Regions from separate parts of the Homo sapiens genome. Here regions 1, 3 and 4 are each linked to region 2. Evidence: promoter capture Hi-C in 16 types of primary human blood cells and fetal thymus (Javierre and others, 2016). All regions are on one chromosome and are shown on one strand. The core of a region is centred on a gene start or on the middle of the fragment in contact, and the rest is flanking DNA. Distances in the headings are between cores, read along the strand shown. Region 1 overlaps LOC107985340 (a long non-coding RNA gene). Region 2 holds the start of NTF4 (neurotrophin 4). Region 3 overlaps SLC6A16 (solute carrier family 6 member 16). Region 4 overlaps LOC107985340 (a long non-coding RNA gene).

Evidence for each region. The method cuts DNA at HindIII sites, captures the fragments that hold promoters and counts their contacts. A CHiCAGO score of 5 or more calls a contact.
Region 1: a fragment that was not itself captured here is called in contact with the fragment with the promoter of NTF4 in region 2 in 3 of 17 cell types (endothelial precursors, M0 macrophages and erythroblasts); the score reaches 7.7 in endothelial precursors.
Region 3: a fragment that was not itself captured here is called in contact with the fragment with the promoter of NTF4 in region 2 in 3 of 17 cell types (erythroblasts, M1 macrophages and endothelial precursors); the score reaches 5.9 in erythroblasts.
Region 4: a fragment that was not itself captured here is called in contact with the fragment with the promoter of NTF4 in region 2 in 2 of 17 cell types (M2 macrophages and erythroblasts); the score reaches 5.8 in M2 macrophages.

What each region holds. Positions count from the first base shown.
Region 1 is chr19:49,225,694-49,229,012 of GRCh38, forward strand. All of the region lies in intron 1 of LOC107985340 (a long non-coding RNA gene), which reads left to right. Among named protein-coding and RNA genes, the nearest start is that of TRPM4, 70 kb to the left of the region's middle. RefSeq lists an enhancer at 386-435. The HindIII fragment of the contact is 825 bases long and covers 1,611-2,435 here.
Region 2 is chr19:49,062,685-49,066,133 of GRCh38, forward strand. It overlaps NTF4 (neurotrophin 4), which reads right to left and starts at 2,134. Exons shown (of 2, transcript NM_006179.5): 1 at 1,055-2,134. The HindIII fragment of the contact is 7,079 bases long and covers 1-3,449 here.
Region 3 is chr19:49,287,962-49,291,595 of GRCh38, forward strand. SLC6A16 (solute carrier family 6 member 16) reads right to left here. Exons shown (of 12, transcript NM_014037.3): 11 at 2,644-2,806; 12 at 1,677-2,431. The coding sequence ends at 2,162. Among named protein-coding and RNA genes, the nearest start is that of MIR4324, 19 kb to the right of the region's middle. The HindIII fragment of the contact is 6,288 bases long and covers 1-3,634 here.
Region 4 is chr19:49,245,458-49,249,101 of GRCh38, forward strand. All of the region lies in intron 2 of LOC107985340 (a long non-coding RNA gene), which reads left to right. Among named protein-coding and RNA genes, the nearest start is that of MIR4324, 62 kb to the right of the region's middle. The HindIII fragment of the contact is 8,311 bases long and covers 1-3,644 here.

The DNA of each region.
Region 1 (3,319 bases), core at 773-3,272, 160 kb after region 2:
GTCTAAGAGCACAGCTGGTCTGGTCCTCAGGTCTTCTGAGTTTTACATACAAAAGTCACAGCTACCCCTGTTTCTTCTGTTTTCTGTTTCGAGACGGTCTTGCTGTGTTGCCCAGGCTGGAGTGCAGTGGCATGATCGTGGCTCACTGCAGCCTGGAACTCCTGGGCTCAAGCGATCCTCCCACCTCAACCTCCTGAGTAGCTGGGACTATAGGCATGCGCCAGCATACCCGGTTAATTTTTTAATTTTTTTTTTTTCCAGAGACAGAGTCTCGCTGTGTTGCCCATGCTGGTCTTGAACTCCTGGGCTCAAGCAATCCTCCTGCCACGGCCTCCCAAAGTGCTGGAATTACAAGTGTGAGCCGCCGCACCCCGCAGCAGCTACCCCATTTGGAGAAAACTCTCCTCCACTCCCCTGCCTGAGGCAATTCCTCTGGCTCAATGGGGCCCTCAATTCAAACGGGTTCCCTTAAACGGCTGGGCGCATTCCACTATGTTAAACCTAAAGATGTCCACTAGGGGGCAGCAACCACCTAACCCCAACACCAACTCCGGAAGACATTGATTGCAGTTTGGTTGATATTTAAGGTATTCAATGGGACTTTGTAACTTCCTCACTATCTGCGGGTGTCTGGTATTATTGATTGTTGGATCATCTTCCTCAAGAATCAGCTCAAAAAGGTTTCTGGTTTCCCCTTCCTACCTCTTCCTGATCCACACACTTTATTTATTTATTTTTTGAGACAGATGCTCTGTTGCTCAGGCTGGAGTGCAGTGGTGCCATCTCGGCTCACTGTAACCTCTGCCTCCTGGGTTCAAGCGATTCTCCTGCCTCAGCCTCCCAAGTAGCTGGGATTATAGGCGTCACCATGCCTAGGTGATTTTTGTATTTTTAGTAGAGATAGGTTTCACCATGTTGGCCAGCTGGTCTCGAACCCCTGACCTCAAGTGATCCACCCGTCTTGGCCTCCCAAAGTGGGGGGATCACAGGCGTGAGCCACCACACCCGGCCGCACACACTTTACTCAGGCCGTTTGGTCACTGAATGTGGCAGTCCCAGAAGAGGCTTCATCTCTTCTTGGCTGCATCTTGGATAGTCCCTGAGACAGAAGTGTTGGAGGAGTTACAGAGACCCGAGGTCAGGAGATCGAGACCATCCTGGCTAACATGGTGAAACCCCGTCTCTACTAAAAATACAAAAAATTAGCCGGGCTTGGTGGCGGGCGCCTGTAGTCCCAGCTACTCAGGAGGCTGAGGCAGGAGAATGGCATGAACCCGGGAGGCGGAGCTTGCAGTGAGCCGAGATCACACCACTGCACTCCAGCCTGGGTGACAGAGCAAGACTCCGTCTCAAAAAAAAAGTACAATTTTGCCCGCTGACCATTGTTGGGAATGATGCATCTTTCTTTCCGCTGGACAGCCTGGTGGTCATGCCCTCCAGATGGCAGTTGAGTCCTGAGGGGGCCAAGTAGGGGATTCAAACTAATGCTGGTTTAGGCACCAGAATCCCCTTGTTGGACCGACATGGTGCTAGATCAGGAGTTGGCACACTATAGCCTGTGGGATACATCTGGCCTGTGACCTGTTTCTGTGTGGTCTATAAACTAACAAAGCTTTTCATATATTTTAAAGAATGTGTTGTTGTTGTTGTTGTTGTTGTTGTTTTTGAGATGGAATCTCGCTTTGTCGCCCAGGCTGGAGAGCAGTGGTATGATCTTGGCTCACTGCAAGCTCCGCCTCCTGGGTTCACGCCATTCTCCTGCCTCAGCTTCCCGAGTAGCTGGGATTAAAGGTGCCCGCCACCATGCCCGGCTAATTTTTGTATTTTTAGTAGAGACGGGGTTTCTCCATGTTGGCCGTCCTGGTCTTGAACTCCTGACCTCAAGTGATCCACCTGCTTCAGCCTCCCAAAGTGCTGGAATTACAGGCGTGAGCCACGGCTCAGCCAAGAATTGTTTAAAAAAAAAAAAAAAAAAAAAAAGCCAGGTGTGGTGGCTCACCTCTGTAATCCTAGCACTTGGGGAGGCTGAAGCAGAAGGATCACTTGAGCCCAGGAGATCAAGACTAGCCTGGGCTATGTGGTGAAAGCCTGTCTCTACAAAAAATTAAAAATTAGCTGGGTGTGCTGGTGCACGCCTGTAGTCCCAGCTACTCGGGAGGCTGAGGTGGGAGGATCGCTTGAGCCTGGGAGGTCGAAGCTGCAGTGAGATATTATTGTACCACAGCTCTCCAGCCTCAGTGACAGAGCAAGATCTTGTTTCAAAAAGAAAAAAGAAAAAGATGACTATGCCACAGAAAACAAATGCCCTACAAAACCCAAAATACTATTACCTGGTTCTTTCCAGAAAAAGTTGGCTCACTCCTGTGTTAGTTGAAACAACCTGCTGATATTACTTATGTGGCTTAACTGAGACAATGTAACGGTAATTCCAGCCAAGCTTAACAACAAAATCCAATGACTGTCTCTTCTCAGGTTGGGGAGGTAAGCTGTGGCATGCCCATTGTGGATGGGGGTTGCTTTTAGGCTCATCTGTTGTCACCCTGTAATTGTTTGTAAAGACATCAAAGATCAGATCAGTTTTTTTATTTTTAAATTTCTTTTTTTGGTATTTTAGCAGATCAGCCTAAAGTTCTCTGCTCTGCTTATAATGGACAATAGAGTCGCCTTAGACTATATCCTGGTTGTCCAAAATAAGATGTACTGGTCCTCTGGGACCAGTTTTTACTTTTTTTTTTTCTGAGATGGAGTTTCACTCTTGTTGCCCAGGCTGGAGTGTAATGGCATGATCTCAGCTCGTTGCAACCTCTGCCTCCCGGGTTCAAGCGATTCTTCTGCCTCAGCCTCCCAAGTAGCTGCGATTACAGGCATGTGGCACCATGCCCGGCTAATTTTGTATTTTTAGTAGAGACGTGGTTTCTCCATGTTGATCAGGCTGGTCTTGAACTCCTGACCTGAGGTGATTCCCCCTCCTCGGCCTCCCAAAGTACTGGGATTACAGACGTGAGCCACCACACCTGGACTTTTATTTTTTTTTTATTTTAATTTTATTGTATTAGAGACAGGGTCTTGCTCTGTCACCTAGGCTGGAGTACAGTGGCGTGATCTTGGCTCACTGCAACCTCAACCTTCTGGGTTCAGGGGATCCTCCCGCCTCAGCCTCCCAAGTAGCTAGGATTACAGGTGTGCCACCACTTCTGGCTAATATTGTTTTTGTATTTTTTGTAGAGATGGGCCTTCACTACGTTGCCCAGGCTGATCTTGAACTCCTAAGATTAAATGATCTGCCGGTCTCAGCCTCCCAAACTGCAGGGATTACAGG
Region 2 (3,449 bases), core at 884-3,383:
GAGGCAGGGCAATCACTTGAACCCAGGAGGTGGAGGTTGTGGTGGGCTGAGATTGAACCATTGCACTCCAGCCTGGGCAACAAGAGCGAAACTCCGTCTTAAAAAACAATAATAATAATAAAATAAAAATAAAAATAATTCAACTACTATTACTTAACAGTAACAGATGTTGAAATACAGGCTCAGAGAAGTTAATGATTTGTGCCCGGTCACACAGCCAGCAAATGGCAGAGATGGGACTTCACCTCTGGGCAACTGCACTCTGCCGTCCTTCCTGTGCAACTCTGAGGAACCGACAGTCTTGCATCTTGGAGGATGTTCCAAACAATTTTTTTTTTTTGAGACAGAATCTCACTCTGTTGGCCAGGCTGGAGTACAGTGGCACAATCCTGGCTCACTGCAATGTCTGCCTCCTGGGTTCAAGTGATTCTCCTGCCTCAGCCTTCTGAGTAGGTGGGATTACAAGCACCTGCCACTGTGCCCAGCTAATTTTTGTATTTTTAATAGAGATGGGGTTTCACCATGTTGGCCAGACTGGTCTTGAACTCCCAACCTCAAGCAATAGTCGTGTCCTGGCCTCCCAAAGTGCTGGGATTACAAGCATAAGCCACCATGCCTGGTCCCAAACAAAATTTTTTTTTTTTTTTTTTTGAGATGGAATCTCCCTCTGTCGCCCAGGCTGGAGTGCAGTGGCACGATCTTGGCTCACTGCAAGCTCCGCCTCCCAAGTTCATGGCATTCTCCTGCCTCAGCCTCCTGAGTAGCTGGGACTACAGACTCAAGCCACCACGCCTGGCCACATTCCACAATTTAGAGAAAGGTCACAACCTGGAATCCTAGGGAGACCCCAGTTCACCTCAAAACTGCCACTAAGGAGGTAAAACGCTGCCCCTCTGAGGCAGGCTTCAGTTTCCCTGTGTGTGAAATTGACCTGGCGCTGGGAGAGGCTGGTGGAGGCGCGGATTTTGCAGTTTCCCTACAACATTCTGGAAGCCTGTGGTTCTGGGAAAGGGTGGCGTGGAGAAGACTGGGAAACAGTCAGTAGTTACCAGACCTGTCAGCACCTCCTCCGCCTCGGAGCTCTGGGGCTGGGAGTCCCCAGGCTTCGGGGGGCCCCTGTGGAGGACACAGGTGGCCCCCTCCTTCCTGACATCTCAGGAGAGGGAGGGGGCAACCACCTAGGGGAAGAAAAGAATAGACAGGTTATAGAGGCAGGTGGGGAAGGGGCCAAATCCCTGAACAACCCCTTCCCAGAGTTCCTCTTCAAGTGCAGGGTACCCAAGAGTCAAGGCCCCGCCCCCTTTCCAGAGGCCCCTTTTCTACCCAGGTGATGGCTCCTGGCTGGGATGGGAAGCAGATGGAGGGAGGGGAAGGGAGAATAGGGGAAGGGAGAGGCAGTGGATGAAGGAGGCTGGAAGAGATTACATCCCCCTCGGCCCATTCATCTCCCAGATGGGGCGGAACTGGCCTGGACACCCGGGTCCCTGAGGGCCCACACTCAAGAAGCCCTGGTTCCCCAAGCTGCTTCCTGGAATGTTCCCTCCTCACAGGACAGGCCAGGGCCCGCCCAAGACTTCTGCACATACCTGGAGTGGCTGCCTGCCCTGGCTCCTCGGTACAGGAAAGGGGAAGGGTGGAGAGTGAAAGGAGCCCAGGCTGACCCAACCAGGACCGCCTTCTCCCTCAGACCGAGTAGTGCAGACCCCAGGGCCTCCACCTTCAGACCCAGGAGTTCAGATCCCCAGCGCCCTCCTCCCTCAGACCCAGGAGTAGTCCAGGCCCCCAGCGCCCTCCTCTCTCAGACCCAGAAGTCCAGGCCCCCAGCACCCTTCTCCCTCAGACCCAGGAGGAGTCCAGGCCCAGGCCCCCAGCACCCTTCTCCCTCAGACCCTGGAGTCCAGGTCCCCAGCGCCCTCCTCCTTCAGACCCAGGAGTCCATGCCCCCAGCGCCCTTCTCCCTCAGACCCAGGAATCCAGGCCCCCAGTGCCCTCCTCTCTCAGACCCAGGAGTTCTGGAATTCAGGCCCCTCCTTCTCGGATACTAAGAAATGCAGACTCCGGGTTCCTCATCCTCCAGATTTGGGTTGGGGGTTCCGGACTCCGAGACCCCTCAGGGGAAACCGGCTGCATATCTGGGACACTTCCCTCTTGCCTCAGTTTCCTCCGCCAAGCCCCGCCCCGGTCGGCCCCGCCCCCGTCCCTCCCCACCCGAGGGCAGGGCGACCAGGACGCCGGAATCCCGAGGGAGGAGGAGTGGAGATCTTACCTGGGGCGCCCTCTTCGGCTCCCGCGGCTGCCCTCCGCCCGGCAGCAGCTCCTCCTCCTGCTCGCTGGCTGCAGGGACGCTCGCTGGCCCGCCGGGTGCTAGCTGCTCACGCTCCGCAGGGCCCGGGTCGGGGGCGGGGGCGGGGCGGCGCCGGGCGGCAGAGGAGGGGCCGGGGGATCCTGCCTTGCACTCGCGTGCCGGGACCTTGGAAGCCAGGCCTGGCTCGTTCAACGCGGCCGCCTTGGTCACAGGAGTCCCAGTTTCCAGCTGCCTCCTCCTTTGGACCTAGCAGTCCAGGCCCCCAGCCCCTCCTCCCTTCAGACCCAGGAGTCCAGGCATCCGGCCCCTCCTCCCTCAGACCCAGGACTTGCGACCCCAGCCACCTCTCCCCCCAGCCCCAGGCGCCTGAGTACTAAGCCCACAGTTCCCCCCACCACCTCCCAACCCCGCCCCGTCTCAGACTCAGGAGTCCAGCCCCCAGCCTCCTCCTCCATTAGCCCCAGGAGTCTGGGCCTGAGATTCCTTTGCCGTCTTTTGCCAATTGCGTGTCAATCCCGGGGCAGATTCCCACCCTCTGCTCTCCTCCCCACTTCCCAGGAGCTCCACGCCAGACATTAACCAGCTGGGCTTGGGCAGTGATAAGGCCCCAGGCCCGGGGAGACAGTGGATGTGGGGGCTCCCGCATACTCCTCTCCCCTGGAATTTCCTGGCTGGGGACCGGGGAGAAGGTCTTGTCCTGAGCTCAGATAAGAGACGTGCAAGGTATCATAGGACCAGAGATAGACAGATGTGTCTTAAGAACAATCAGCTACCTTGAGAAATGGTGCGCGGTGACATGAAGGGAGAGATAGGGAGAAGACATGGAAAAGTGGGGAGAGACCAAAAGAAAGAGGGGGACCGAGACTAGAGAGAGTGGGGGAGGGCAGGAGCCCAGAGAGAAGACAGAGGCCCAGAGAGCGTGAGGGCAGACCCCCCCACCCCCCCGAGAAGGGGACAGAGCCCCTGAGAGACCCTGAGAAAGACAGGGATGGGACCGGAGCCGGAGTGTCTCAGGACAGTCATGAGGGCAGCGGGGCTCCTCACCCCACCACACCTCTACCCTGAGACTCCGCTCCCCTCCGCCTGCGCTATTTTCAGAAGGAAAACTGACACCTGCCTCGAGGGTCATCCCACACCCCCTCAG
Region 3 (3,634 bases), core at 618-3,117, 230 kb after region 2:
TCCAGGCTGAGGTGGTCTCAGATGGAGATGAGGAACTTGTTGGGTACTGGAGCAAAGATGACTCTTTATTATGTTTTAGCAAAGTGACTAGTGGCATCTTGCCCCTGCCCTAGAGATTTGTGGAACTTTGAACTTGAGAGAGATGATTTAGTGTATCTGGCAGAAGAAATTTCTAAGCAGCAAAGTATTCAGAAGGTGACTTGCGTGCTGTTAAAAGCATTCCGTTTTAAAAGGGAAACAGCATAAAAGTTCAGAAAATTTGCAGCCTGATGATGCAGTGGAAAAGAAAAATCCATTTTTGAGGAGAAATTCAAGCCAGCTGCAGAAATTTGCATGAGTAGCAAGGAGCCTAATGTTAATCCCTTAGACCATGGGGAAAATGTCTCCAGGCCATATCAGAGACATTCATGGCAGCCCCTCCCATCACAGGCCCAGAGGCCCAGGAGGAAAAAGTGGTTTTGTGGGCCAGGCCCAGGGTCCCCATGCAGTGTGCAGCCTAGGGACTTGGTGCCCTGTGTCCCAGCCACTCCAGCCATGGCTGAAAGGGGCCAACGTACAGCTCGGGCTGTGGCTTCAGAGAGTAGAAGCCCCAAGCCTTGGCAGCTTCCACGTGATGTTGAGCCTGCGGGTGCACAGAAGTCAAGAATTGAGGTTTGGGAACCTCCGCCTAGATCTCAGAAGATATATGGAAATGCATGGATGTCCAGGCAAAAGTTTTCTGTAGGGGCAGAGCCCTCATGCAGAACCTCTGCCAGGGAGGGAAATGCAGAAGGGAAACGTGGGGTCAGAGCCCTCACACAGAGTCAGAGTCCCTACTGGGGCACTGCCTAGTGGAGCTGTGAGAAGAGGGCCACTGTCCTCCAGACCCCAGAATGGTAGAACCACTGACAGCTTGCACCCTGAGCTTGGAAAAGCCACACTCAACACCAGCCCGTGAAAGCAGCTGGAAGGGGGACTGTACCCTGCAAAGCCACGAGGTGGAGCTGCCTAAGACCATGGGAACCCACCTTTTGCATCAGCATGACCTGGATGTGAGATCTGGAGTCAAAGGAGATCATTATGGAGCTTTAAAATTTGACTCCCCTGCTAGATTTTGGACTTGCATGGGCCCTGTAACCCCTTTGTTTTGGCCAATTTCTCTCATTTGGAATGGCTGTATTTACCTGATACCAGTACCCCCATTGTATCTAGGAAGTAACTAGCTTGTTTTTGATTTTACAGGCTCATAGGTGGAAGGGACTTGCCTTGTCTCAGATGACACTCTGGACTTTTGGATTAATGCTGAAATGAGTTGAGACATTGGGGGACTGTTGGGAAGGCATGATTGCTTTTGAAATGTGAGGACATGAGATTTGGAGGGGCCAGGGGCAGAATGATATGGTTTCACTGTGTCTCCATTTAAATATAAACTTCAATTATATCTCCCAGAATTCCCACGTGTTATGGGAGGGAACCAGGGGAGGTAATTGAATCATGGGGGCTGGTCTTTTCCATCCTAATCTCGTGATAGTGAATAAGTCTCATGAGATCTAATGGGTTTATCAGGGGTTTCCACTTTTGCTTCTTCCTCATTTTTTTCTCTTGCTGCCATCATGTAAGAAATGCCTTTCACCTCCCACCATGATTGAGGCCTCCCCAACCATGTGGAACTGTAAGTCCAGTTAAACCTCTTTTTGTTCCCAGTTTCAGGTATGTCTTTATTAGCAGTGTGAAAATGAACTAATACAGACTGGAAGCCTTGTGACAGGAAAACTGAACATCTGAGACATCTATAGGAAAAAAAGATCTGCTTACATCCAGTCCTTGGAGTTCCAGTAGACTGATTTATTCACCAACAGCATTGCTCCTCCAGCTCCATTCCAGGAGACAGGCACCCCAGAAGTAGCAGGACTGGTAGACATCACTAGTATTGTATATGTGTTGTGCATGTATGTGTGTTGAGGAAGAGGATGGGGAAAACAATGATGGTGGTCACCAGGTAAGATGGGACCCAGGAAGGGATTGCAAGTCCAGGCCCCATGAACACCCCCAAAGAATGCCCCTCCTCTTGGAAATAAAAGTGGTTCTGGATCCAGGGAGATCAACAGTTGCAAGCTGATATTAAGAGTTGTCTATTGGATCTGTTCTAAGGGATATGTTATGTGAAGCCAAATTAATGAAGTTAGGAAGTCACATTACAAGTTGATGGGTACTTTGTTTCATCAACTTGTAGAATTTCTTCCTTTTGAACCTCTTTACTGGGTGTTAGCTGGTGACTTAGGGGTAGGGATGTGGAGGCTGTCATAGGCCCGTCTCCGCTCTTGGGCCTGAAGGGAATCCTATGTATGCGGCAGTATACAAAGTATGCAGGGATGGGGAGGATGACAATGGCAAAAAGGGTGATCATCAAGAGCAGTGCCCACGGTGGGTATGGTCGAAGCACCTCTTTTGACTGTGGAGAGATGGGAAAAGGGTTCAGAATATCAAAATCCCCAAGAGAAAAGGAAGAGTTGTGGAGGGGAAGGATGGGTGGGGAACCAAAGCAGAAAACCCATGAGTCTTCGGGCAGTAAGAGAATGAGATGACTGGGTTCTTTCACCCAGAGTGAATTGAAAGGTCTGGCCCCTACTCCCAAAGGGGTTCTGGGTCCTGGGGGAGGCTCACGGTGCTTGAGTCCCAGGACATGTAGGTGATCGGCTTCATACAAAGATGAACCATCATGGTCACAAAGATGATTAGCAGCACAACTGGACACAGATGGGGCCACAGCCAACCAAAGATGGGAGAGATGGGGTGGCCCAACAGGATCGTCAGGTCTGCAAGGAACCTGGAGAAGGGCCACCAGAGTGTGGGATGCCCAGTTAGGCCTCACCACCTTGGAGGCAGGGCCAGCCCAACCTTGGCATCTTTCAAACATTCTATTGTATCTCTAATCTCCTGTTTCATCTCAAGTCTTGTCCTCTCTCATCTTCCCCCTAGTCAGTCTGTCTTCTATCCTAACCCAAGAAACTTTTCCAAACACCCCTCTCCTGCTCAAGAACTTTCCATGGGTATCCAATGGCCTCAGGAGAAAGGCCAAGTCTCTTTCATTCATCCCATAAATATGAGAATGTCTATGATGTGCCAGGAACTCTTCTAAGTGCTGGATATCCAGCAGTGAACAACACAGATAAAATAAAGTGGCATTTGGCCCTTGGTGAACTTATCTAGTTTATTTCAGCCACCTATCCAGTCTCCTTTAGTACATATTCTCAATCTCAATAAATATACAAGTGGGGTCTTTTGGTCTAGGGTGCCCATCACCCTATCTCCACCTATTCATCTGTCCAGGCTCTGCTCAAGCATCCTCTTCTCTAGGCCACCTTCCCTAACTCTCCAGTCTTCCTTAACTAACCATCTATGCCCCCGGAGTTTCCCTGGCTACCTCTACTATAGACTTACCACCGGGTACTGGGATTTTCTGCTTATATACGTCTTTCTCTTTGGACTCTGAGCTCTTTGAGAAGAGTATCTCAATGTAAGTCATTCATATCCCAGTACCACAAGGCTTTCCTGACACAAAGTCTCAAGAAAATGTTTGTTGGGTGAGTTAATAAATGAGTCCATAAGTGAGCAAACTGACTCCAAGAACCACTATCAGATGAAAATGCTGAGG
Region 4 (3,644 bases), core at 957-3,456, 180 kb after region 2:
AGAGTCTTGCTCTGTCACCCAGCCTGGAGTGCGGTGGCACGATCTCGGCTCACTGCAAGGTCCCGGGTTCACGCCATTCTCCTGCCTCAGCCTCCCGAGTAGCTGGGACTACAGGCACCCGCCACCACACCCGGCTCATTTTTTTGTATTTTTAGTAGAGACGGGGTTTCACTGTGTTAGCCAGGATGGTCTCGATCTCCTGACCCCGTGATCCGCCTGCCTCGGCCTCCCAAAGTGCTGGGATTACAGACATGAGCCAGCGTGCCTGGCCCCGGCTATTTTTTTTTTTCCTTTAGACAGTCTTGCTCTGTCACCCAGGCTGGAGTGCAGGGGCGTGATGACAGCTCACTGCAGCCTTGGCCTCCCGGGCCCAAGCGATCCTCACGCCCAGCATCTTGAGTAGCTGGGACCACAGGCATGTGCCACCATGACCAGCTAATTTTTTTTTTTTTTTTGTAGAGACACGGTCTCCTTATGTTGCCCAGACTAGTCTCAAACCCCTGAGCTCAAGCGATCTTCCTGTCTTGGCCTCCCAACGTGTTGGGATTACAGGCGTGAGCCACCACACCTGGCCAAAACTCAGTTTTTATTGAGCTATAATTTACAGACAACAAGCACAGATACTAAATGTATACTTTAATGAGTTTTGACAAATGACCCCTGTCACCAATGCCCCAATTTCCGTCACTCCAGAGAGTTACTTTGGGTTCCTTTCTCTTCACCCCAGAAGCAATGACTGATTTCCATCACTACATATAAGTCTGACCTGTTCTTGGGTTTCATAGATAATAGATTCACACAATACATAGACATTTGTGTCTGGCCTGTTACATTTAATATAGAACATCTTTGCTAAGCCCGAGGTCATAAAGATATTCTATGTTTTCTTCCGGAAGTTTCTAGTTTTGGCTTTTGAATTTAGGTCTTTGGTTCCTGTTAATTTGGGGTGGGGGTATGGTATGTGGCAGGAATATGTTTATATTTTTCTATATGGCTATACAGTAGTTCTAGCCCTGTTTGTTAAAAAGACTTTCCCTTACCCATTGAATTGCTGTGATATCTTTACTGAACATCAATTGGTCATATGTGTATAGGTGGATTTCTGTTCTGTTCTATTGATCTTTTGGTTTATCTTTAGGCTAATATAACACTGCCCTGACTACTGTAGCTTTATAGTAAATCTTGAAATTCGATAGTATGAGTCTCCAACGTGTTCTTTCTCAAGATTGTTTGGACTACTTTAGGTCTTTTGCATTTTTTTTTTTTTTTTTTTTTTGAGATGGAGTCTTGCTCCATTGCCCAGGCTGGAGTGCAGTGGTGTGATCTCAGGTCATTGCAACCTCCCTGCCTACTGAGTTCAAGCAATTCTCCTGCCTCAGCCTCCTAAGTGAAATTACAGGCACCCGATACCACGCCTGGCTAATTATTTTTTAGTAGAGATGGGGTTTCCTCATGTTGGCCAGGCTGGTCTCAAACTCCTGACCTCAGGTGATCCTCCTGCCTTGGCCTCCCAAAGTGCTGGGATGACCGGCATAAGCCACTACACCCGGCCGGTCCTTTGCATTTTCATGTACATTTTAGAATCAGCTTGTCAATTCCTCAACAAACCTGGCTGAGATCTGAATTGCCATTGTGTTGAATCTGTAGATCAATTTGGGGAGAACTGATATCTTGTTTTTTGAGACAGAGTCTTACTCTGTTACCCATGCAGGAGTGCAGTGGTGCGATCTCGGCTCACTGCAGCCTCTGCCTCGCAGGCTCAAGCGATTCTCCTACCTCAGCCTCCTGAGTAGCTGGGATTACAGGTGTGTACCACCATGCCCAGCTAATTTTTTTGTATTTTTAGTAGAGACAGGGTTTCACCATGTTGGCCAGGCTGGTCTCAAACTGCTGAGCTCAAGTAATCCACCCACCTCGGCCTCCCGAAGTGCTGGGATTACAGGCGTGAGCCACCACGCCCGGCCTACACCAATTCTTTGAATTCATAAACAAATATTTCCATTTATTTAGGTTTTTCTCTCAAAAATACCTTGTAGTTTTCAGTATAGAGATTTTTGAATATCTTTTGTTAAATATAGTCTTAGCATTTGATTTTTGAGGCTATTGTAAATGGTTTTGTTTTTAAAATTTCACTTAACTATGGTTTGTTGCTAGTATGCAGAAATGTGATTATTTTTGTATATTGGCTTTTATTTTTGTGACTTTCCTAAGTGCACTTATTCTAGTAGCTTTTTATTTTTGTAGATTCCCTAGGATTTCCTAATTACATGCTTATGACATCTGTGAATAAAGACAGTTTTACTTCTTCCTAGCCAGTTTCTATGCTTTTTATATCTTTTTCTTGCCTTCTTTCACTGGCTAGGAACTTCACTATAGTGTTGAACAGAAGTGGTGTAAAGGGATTTCCCTTCCCTGTTTTCAGTATTGGGGAAAGTATTCAGTATTTCATCATTTAGTATGATGTTAGCTGTAGCTTTTGTCATTGTTGTTAATATCCTTAACACAATGAATGATTCTCAACCGAGGGTGATTTCCCACCTCTTCCAGGGACATTTGGTAATGTCATATGACTTTTTTTTTTTTTTTTTTTTTTTTTTTTTTGAGACTGAGTCTCGCTCTATCACTCAGGCTGGAGTGCAGTGGCGTGATCTCGGCTCACTGCAAACTCCGCCTCCCGGGTTCACGCCATTCTCCTGCCTCAGCCTCCTGAGTAGCTGGGACTACAGGCGCCCGCCACCACGCCTGGCTAATTTTTTGTATTTTTAGTAGAGACAGGGTTTCACCATGTTAGCCAGGATGGTCTCGATCTCCTGACCTCATGATCCGCCCACCTCGGCCTCCCAAAGTGCTGGTATTACAGGCGTGAGCCACTGCACTTGGCCTGTCATGTGACATTTTTCATTGTCACAAACAGCTGAGTGGGGAGCGTTGATGCTGGCATCTTGAGGGTGAAGGCTAGGAACACTGCCAAGCATTCTAGGATGCACAGCACAGCCTCTCCCCACCCCAGCAAAGAATTTTCTGGGCAAAATCCCCATCATGTTCAGGTAGAGAATCTCTGCCCAGCACATGGAGGAAGTTCTGTTGTATTTCTAGTTTGTTGCAGGTTTTTTTTCCTCCAATAATAGGTGTTGAATTTTGTCAAATGGTTCTTCCCTTTAATCTATTAATGTAATAAGTTACATTAATTTCTGGGATAAAACCACTTGCTTATACTGTATCCACTTTGTTTGTGGATTAAATTTGCTAATATACTTTGAGACAGTCTCTCGTTCTGTCGCCCAGGCTGGAGGGCGTGATCTTAGCTCACTGCAACCTCCGCCTCCTGGGTTCAAGCTATTCTCCTGCCTCAGCCTCCCGAGTAGCTGGGATTATAGGCGCCTGCCACCACGCCCGGCTAATTTTTATATTTTTAGTAGAGATGGGGTTTCATCATGTTAGCCAGGCTGGTCTCAAACTCCTGACCTGAAGTGATCCACCCACCTCCCAAAGTGCTGTGATTACAGGCACAAGCCACTGCGCCTGGCCAAATTTAACTTTTAAACTCAGAAATGGGGCTATTTAGATTTTCTACTTGCATCAGTCTTTGTAATTTGTACCTTGCAAGGTGTTTAAGTTGAACTTATAGGTATAATTTTGATCAT